Regions from separate parts of the Homo sapiens genome. Here all the other regions are linked to region 1. The links are contacts of gene promoters, found by promoter capture Hi-C in blood cells and fetal thymus (Javierre and others, 2016). All regions are on one chromosome and are shown on one strand. The core of a region is centred on a gene start or on the middle of the fragment in contact, and the rest is flanking DNA. Distances in the headings are between cores, read along the strand shown. Region 1 holds the start of GDF7 (growth differentiation factor 7). Region 2 overlaps LDAH (lipid droplet associated hydrolase). Region 3 has its middle 16 kb from the start of LDAH.

Region 1 (2,700 bases), core at 162-2,661:
TCTGGCTGGATAGAATTAAGGCCGAAATTACTTGCATTTCCGCCTGAAATTAGGTAAATTTTCTCTATCTGTCTGCTTTAATGATTTCAATGGAGATTAATAAAATCCAGATGACATACAGCAGCCACACCACAGCCTCACCTACATCTTACCTTTGGAAGGCCCAGGGCAGAACAAGGTGGGGTGCTTAGTCTAAGAGAGGCCTGCATTCCTGCAGGGTCCCCAGCAGGCCTCTCCTCCCCACACCACCAGGATCCTTGACCTCTGGCTCTCCCAGGGGCCCAGCACCAGACACAGGCACCCATAGCTGCACATGTCACACACACACAAACCACCACCACCCAGACCAACCTGCTGAGCAGGGCACTCCTCATACCTGGTTATGCCACCAGCCTCTCCAGGGCCATTTACTTTAGTCTGATACCTGCCTCTGCCCTAGTTTTCCCTGGGCTTCCCCCAATTTGTGTGGCCCGCAGGAGACTGGGAGCTGCAGAAATTGCTGCAAGGAAGGAGCCATCACCCTCACCACCGTGCAGTCCCTCTCGCCGTGACTCCCGGGAACACAGCTCTTGCCCTCCTTTCTTCTCTGAGGGCTCCGAGGCCACTCCAGACCATTCCCCAAGAAGCGAATCTTGGCCTCCGCCTGCCTCCTCGAGGGGACCAGCCGGCCTGCAAGGCCAGGGAGACCTGGGAGAGGGACCAGTCAGCCCTCTGGGACTGGGCCCCGGGAGCTGCCGCGACTCTCGCCACAGTCCAGGTGCAGCGGGCTGGAGAGTGTTGGCCTCGGCGAAGTTTCTTTCTATCACCTGAGGGTGGGCCGCATGGGGCCGCGGCTCCAAATGTAACGGAGCTGCGGCACGGCTCCGGGGCTGGTCTCAGCCCAGGACCTGACGGGATGGGCGGGCACAGAAGAGGCGTAAGTACCTTGGGTCGCCTGGTCTGTGAAGCCGGTGATCGTGTCCGCGCGACCATGGCCCGAGGCGGAGACAGCGGCTGCCCCGGCCGGAGCCCTCCCGGCCAGGCTCCGGTAAAGCGACATCATGAAGTGGTGCGGCACCACCGAGCCGTTCCTGAAGCCGGAGCCCGCGGCGCGGCGCGCGGCGCGGGCCCGGGGAACCGCGGCGGCCGGGACAGCCGCGGCGCCCGCAGCCTGGGCAAGAGTCCGCCCGCCGCCGCCGCCGCCGCCGCCGCCCCCTGGGCTCCGGACCGGCCCAGCCCCCGCCGCTCGCAGCACGGCGGCCGCTTCCAGCCCGTCGCGGGGGCGGCAGGCGCTCAGCAGCCAAAGGCACAGCGCGGCGGCGGCGCTCAGGTCCATGGGCTCCGTGGGCCGGGCGGGCGGGCGGCGCGGGCTCCGTGGCTCCGGGAAGTCCCCCGGCGCCTTTTGAACATAGTGTTTAATAATGGGGGAAGTGTGCGCGGCCAGCCCGCGGCCCCCCCTCCTGGCCCACCCCACCCCCGCCCAACGCCCGGAGCAGCGCCCCCTGCTGAAAGCTCCGGCGGCCGCTATGCGCCCCCCACCCCGGCCTAGAGTGGAGACCAGGGCCGGAGCCGCCTCCTCCCACCGCAGCGCTACGCCCCCACCCTCGCCAAGCGACTGCCACTGGCCCCAGCCTCCCGACACGCCTCCCCGCGGCAGTGCGACACCCCCTCCATCCGCCCAAGACCAACGCGCCCTCCGTGGTTCCAGGCTCGGGGCACCGCGCGCACCCGCCCAGCTTCCTCCCCACTCCCCCGCAGAGAAACACCCGCCCCCTCCCTGCCCTGGTTCCCAATGCCGGGAACGGGGCGGCAGAGTTGGGGCCGCGGAAGGGCTCGCCCTCCAGACCGCTTCGCGCCGCGGCCGGGTGGCCGCGCAGAGAGAGGCCACAGGATGCTCCCGGCGGCCTCAAAGTCGCGTTCCGGATCGCGGGTCGGCGGTTCCCCACTCAGCCACAGACCCCAAAGGATTGCAGCGGGCGGCCAGAGCAGGGGAGGGGGCCGGTAGGGGAGGAAGGGAGGGCGAGGAGCTGAAAGGGCAGGCCTGTAAGAGACCTTTGGACGCGGACCGCCCGTCGTAAAAGCAAGGTTTGGGCGCGGAAGTTGCGCTTCAGCGGGAGCCAAGCTCTAGAAAGAGCTCGAAATGAGGACGGCAGCCCCGGGTGATGGGGGATCTCGCGCGGGAGTGCGCTAAGAGTTTGGCTGTGCGTCCAACTGGCGACCTTCCACCCGCCTTCTGGGCGAGGGCAGCGGCTAACGAAAACCAGCTACCGGCTGTGTGCGTGAGCGGCCAGGAGCCGGGAGAGCGGACGGCGCAGAGCCCCGGGATGGCGCCTCCGAGCTTCTTACCCCGCCGCGGTGATGGCGCGGGTCCCGAGGTGGATGGAGGGGACGCCCGGCAGCGGCGAAGCCCTGGGGCGCACTCGCGCGGGCCGCAGAGCAGTTTGCTCCGCGGCTGGGACAGGTTGCGGAGGCCAAGTCTCAGGGGAACGCGCAGGAGAGGGGGGTTATCGGCTCTGCTCCGCCGGCAGCCTGGACATCCCCCTAGATCGGAAACTTTCAGCTGATCGAAGGCCTGGGCCAAACGAACTGCCGAAGAAGGGCAGGCGGGTCCTTTTCCTTTAAAATTGCATTTTCTGCAGAACTCAAAATCTAGACTGGGTCGGCACGTCGTGATCACCTTGAGCGGGTGATCAGCTTCAAAGCGAGGTCGCCCGCCGAATC
Region 2 (2,700 bases), core at 64-2,563, 140 kb before region 1:
GGTGGCTCATACCTGTAATCCCAGCACTTTGGGAGGCCGAGAGGGGTGGATCACGAGGTCAGGAGATCGAGACCGTCCTGGCTAACACAGTGAAACCCCATCTCTACTAAAAATACAAAAAATTAGCCAGGCATGGTGGCAGGCGCCTGTCGTCCCAGCTACTCGGGAGGCTGAGGCAGGAGAATGGCGTGAACCCCGGGGGCAGAGCTTGCTTTGAGCCGAGATCGCGCCACTGCACTCCAGCCTGGGCGACAGAGCAAGACTCATCTCAAAAAACAAAAAAAAAAAACTAGTTTAATCCAGTTAATCCAGTCCCTCTGCCTTTTAAATCCACCAGATTATCTTTCCTCCAACATCTTCCCAAACTGTTCTGAGGAAGGAGATGAGGTATTAATGAGAGAGATTAGTAGGATCACCATTAATGAAATATAGTCAAATCAGTTTTTAGAAGGTTGAGTCCGGGCGCGGCCGCTCACGCCTGTAATCCCAGCACTTTGGGAGGCCGAGATGGGCGGATCACGAGGTCAGGAGATCGACACCATCCTGGCTAACACGGTGAAACCCCGTCTCTACTAAAAATACAAAAAAATTAGCCGGCCGTGGTGGCGGGCGCCTGTAGTCCCAGCTACTCGGGAGGCTGAGGCAGGAGAATGGCGTGAACCCGGGAGGTGGAGCTTGCAGTGAGCCGAGATCGCGCCACTGCAGTCCAGCCTGGGCGAGAGAGCGGGACTCCGTCTCAAAAAAAAAAAAAAAAGAAGGTCGAATACCTTTTTGGCACCAGGGACCCATTTTGTGGAAGTCAATTTTTCCACAAATGGTGGGGAGTGGGGAGTGATGGTTTTGGGATGAAACTGTTCCATCTCAGATCACTGGGCGTTAGTTTCTCATAGGGAGCATACAACCTAGATCCTTCGCATGCACAGTTCACAATAGGGTTTGCGTTCCTGTGAGAATTTAATGCCTCCACTGATCTAACATGAGGCGGAGCTCAGGCAGTAATGCTTGCTTGCCGCTTATCTCCTGCTATGTGGCCTGGTTCCTAACCAGTTCCAGACCATGGCCCAGGGATTGTGGACCCCTGTTGTATACTATGTCCCCCTCTAAAGCATTCTCAGTTCTTATCGGTGTGCTTTGAAAAAGTTCCTCAGAAGTAAAGCTTATGTGCCTTTGTGTTTAACTTAACTTTGCAGATTGTGTTTTCCAAAGATGGCCACAATAGTAACTCCCATACCACATGTTCTTTTTACAATATGACTTTGACACTTCTTCTACTGACCCCTCTCAGTAGAAATGTCACAGTCATATTGTACAAAGAACATGCTGTCTTTGAATATTGATGGGCTTCTGTCTAACATGGAAGTGATGCTATGTGACTTTTGAGGGTAGGTCATAAAAGGTGATACAACTTTAATCTGGTACTCTTGAGACATTTGCTCTTGGAACCAAGCCACCATTTTCTGAAGAAGCTTAAGTAGCCCATATTGGCAGGCCAAATGGAGAAGGCACATGCAGGTGTTCCAGGCCAACAGCCTATGTGACAACAGCATCAGTCACCAAGCATATGAACAAAGATACTTCCAGATGACTCCTGCCTCCAGTGATCAGATCACACCCAGTTCTTGAGTTTTCTCAGCTAAGGCCCCAGACTTTGGATCAGAGATAGGCTATCTTTGTTGTGCCCTTTCTGAATTCCTGACCCACAGAATCCATAAGCATAGTAAATGGTTGTCTTAAGCCACTAAGTTTTAAAGTAATATTTTAGATAGCGAGAGTAACTGGAACACCCAATGTTTCCTGAGAACACTTTATTTTCTTAAGTATGGTAACTGGTAGCTTGTGATACATGTTCCTTGGAAAACCTGTTTGTGGAATTTCTGGTTTTCTAATTTTTTAGCTTGCCATTCAAGGCCTTCATAGTGAACAGTAGGACAGCTTCGGTATTGGCCTATACATATCCAGCAAATCAGTCTCCTCCCTGAATGGTATTTTATTTATAGTTTCTGTATCAGTATTCTTTTACTCTTCTAGAAAGCCCTTATGTTTATTCGCTGATAGTCTCTTTTGTGAAGTGCCTGTTCAAATATCATTTTTCTATTGAGTTGTCTCTTACTGATTTGTAAAAGTTCTTTGTAAATTCTGGATATGTGCATGTTGGGACAAAAATCTATTTTTATATCCTGTGTGTATATATATATTTCCTAACAACAGGCTCGTTTTCAGAATACTATACATATGTGTATATATGTGTGTGTGTATATGTATAGTGTTCTCCCACTCTGTGACTTGCCTTCTGACTCTCTTAATAGTGTCTTTTGCTAAATCCAAGTTCTTAATTCTAATGGAGGATGGAATTTGAAAGTCTTTTCCTTTTTTTTTGAGATGAACTCTCACTCTGCTGCCAGGCTGGAGTGCAGTGGTGCGATCTCGGCTCACTGCAACCTCCGACTCCCTGGTTCAAGTAATTCTTCTGCCTCAGCCTCCTGAGTAGCTGGGATTACAGGCACGCGCCACCAAGCGCAGCTAATTTTTTTTTTTTTTGTATTTCTAGTAGAGATGGGGTTTCACGATGTTGGCCAGGATGGTCTTGATCTCCTGACCTTGTGATCCACCTGCCTCGGCCTCCTAAAGTGCTGGGATTACAGGTGTGAGCCACCACGCCTGGCAGTCTTTTCCTTTATGGCTCATGTTTACTATTACCTT
Region 3 (2,700 bases), core at 189-2,688, 170 kb before region 1:
TAAAAAAGCTTGGTAGAAATTTTTATTTTTAAAAGTTATTTTATTTAAAAAAATCATTTATCTTTGACTTTCATGGGCATATAGTAGGTGTATATATTTATGGGGTACATGAGATATTTTGATACAGGCATATAATGTGTAGTAATCATGTCATGGTAAGTGGGGTCCATCATCATAAGCATTCATTATTTCTTTGTTATAAGCAATCCAATTATACTCTTCTGGTTATTTTTAAGTGTACAATACATTATTGTTGACTGTAGACACCCTGTTGTGCTATCAAATCCTAGATCTTATTTATTCTATCTATTTATATTTTGTGCTCATTTACCAACCTTCTTCCTCCCTCCCTCATCCACCACCTACTACCTTTCTCAGACTCTGGTAACCATCCTTTTACTCTCTATCTCCATAAGTTCAACTGTTTTAATTTTTAGCTCCCACAAATAAGTGAGAACACGCAAAGTTTGTTTTCCTGTGCCTGGCTTATTTCACTTAACATAATGACCTCCAGTTCCATCCATAATGTTGCAAATGACAGGATCTCATTCTTTGTATGGCTGAATAGTATCCCATTGTGTGTATGGTACCACATTTCCTTTGTTCAGTTGTCTGCAGATGGACACTTAGGTTGCTTCCAAATATTGGCTATTGTGAATAGTGCAGAAATAAACATGGGAGTCAGAGATCTCTTCAATATACTGATTTCCTTCCTTTTGGGTATATACCTAGCATTGGGATTGCTGGATTATAAGGTAGTTCTACTTTTAGTTTTTTGAGGAACGTCCAAACTATTCTCTGTAGTGTTTGCACTATTTTATTTACATTCCCACCAAGATTGTATGAGGGTTTCCTTTTCTCCACATCCTCACCAGCATTTGTTATTGCCTATCTTTTGGATAAGATTCATTTTAACTGGGTTGAGATGCTATCTCATTGTAGTTTTTAAAATAAAACAGCAATAGCTCAGGTAGAACTAAATCGTGGTAGTTTTGATTTGCATTTCTCTAATGATCAGTGACGCTGAAACAACACTCATTTTTCTTTTCCTTTTTATTTGTACAAATATATGGGGTATATGTGCAAGTTTGTTATGTGCATAGATTGTGTAGTGGTCAAGTCAGCACTTTTAGGGTATCCATCACCGAAATAACATACATTATATCCATTAACCAACTCTTCATCATCCTCCCCCTTCTCACCTCCAGACTCTTCCAAGTCTCCATTATCTATCATTCCACTCTTTACAACAATGTGAACAAATTTTTAGCACCCAATTATGAGTGAGAATATGCAGTATTTGTCTTTCTATGTCTGTCTTGTTTCACTTATGCTAATGAAATCCAATTTCATCAATGTTGCTGCAAATGACATGATTTCATTTTTATGGCTGCATAGTATTCCATTGTGTATATATACCACATTCTCTTTATCCATTCATCTGTTGATGGACACAGGTTCATTCCGTATCTTTGCTATTTTGCATAGTGTTTCAATAAATATATGAGGGCAGCTATCTTTTTGATATATTGACTTGTTTTCTTTTGGGTAGATGCCCAGTAGTGAGATTGCTGGGTTGAATGGTAGTTCTATTTTTAGTTCTTTGAGAACTCTCCATACTACTTTCCATACAGGCTGTACTAATTTTCATTCCCAAGAACAGTATATAAGCCTTTCCTTTTCTCCACGTGCTCAAAATATTTATTTTCTGAGAGACATTTATAAAGATATATGATGTCATTCTCCTTATCAGTTATTTTTACCTGTTTTAAGGACTGATAAAATCAGAATTTGAAAATGACAAGAAAAAAAGTCTTTTTTTTATATTAATGAATTTCTAGAACTATGTCCCAAAGCTGATGGGTATACAGCAATGGGATTTCCTCAAAGAAACGGAGCTGTAATAGGGAAATTTTTTTGCCCAAAGACTTGGCATCAAATGAATCATGACTGTCTGCAAAATTTGTCGTATAACAAATAGCAAATTTTGCATATAGCAAAGGCACAGCTATAAATCTTTATAATAATAATTTAAATAACAAAAATTGTGTTTCAAGTTGCATAAAATGTACTTATACATTATTGGTTCAAAAGATGTTACTATATCATATTTAGATGTACATTATATATTATATGTTGTATGTTATATATAATACAATATTTAAAGGTACATACAAAGGATACATATCTATATATTTGACATGTCCTGTATTAGGCACTTGTGCTACTTTTTGCTACAATAAAAAATAATCCCGAAATCTCAACAATTTACAACAATGAAGATTTATTTCTTGCTCCCATTGCATGTCCTTCCCAGATTGGCTGCACCTCTATTCCACATCTTCTTCATTCTGGGACCCAAGACAAAGGAACACCCCAATCTGGGACATGCTGATCTTGAGGCAGAGAGAAAAGAGGAATGGCAGAATTCCACAATGGCAGAATCCCACAATGGACCATCTGTTAACATTCCATTGTCTATAACAAGCTACAACGCCAAGTTTGATGTCAATGGTGCACAAAATACAATGTCTCACTGGGAAGGGCAGAAAATTATTAAGAGTAATTTTATTGTTTAAGAGACTTCCTGAAAACATATTTATCCAAAGGGCAGATCACCCAATTATCTCCACAGGACAATGATCACTCAACTGAACAAATGTGCTTGCTTATCAAATGACTGTTTACTTGTCAGTACAT

What was found. The method cuts DNA at HindIII sites, captures the fragments that hold promoters and counts their contacts. A CHiCAGO score of 5 or more calls a contact.
Region 2: a contact is called between a fragment that was not itself captured here and the fragment with the promoter of GDF7 in region 1, in 1 of 17 cell types (total B cells). The highest score is 6.5, in total B cells.
Region 3: a fragment that was not itself captured here is called in contact with the fragment with the promoter of GDF7 in region 1 in 1 of 17 cell types (total B cells); the score reaches 6.9 in total B cells.

Annotation. Positions count from the first base shown.
Region 1 is chr2:20,665,855-20,668,554 of GRCh38, reverse strand. GDF7 (growth differentiation factor 7) reads right to left here and starts at 1,411. Exons shown (of 2, transcript NM_182828.4): 1 at 925-1,411. The coding sequence starts at 1,315. RefSeq lists enhancers at 732-851, 1,838-2,668 and silencers at 1,332-1,481, 1,522-1,571, 1,642-1,751. The HindIII fragment of the contact is 16,143 bases long and covers 1-2,700 here.
Region 2 is chr2:20,809,074-20,811,773 of GRCh38, reverse strand. All of the region lies in intron 1 of LDAH (lipid droplet associated hydrolase), which reads left to right. Among named protein-coding and RNA genes, the nearest start is that of LDAH, 13 kb to the left of the region's middle. The HindIII fragment of the contact is 310 bases long and covers 1,159-1,468 here.
Region 3 is chr2:20,837,958-20,840,657 of GRCh38, reverse strand. No RefSeq gene overlaps it. Among named protein-coding and RNA genes, the nearest start is that of LDAH, 16 kb to the right of the region's middle. The HindIII fragment of the contact is 2,855 bases long and covers 11-2,700 here.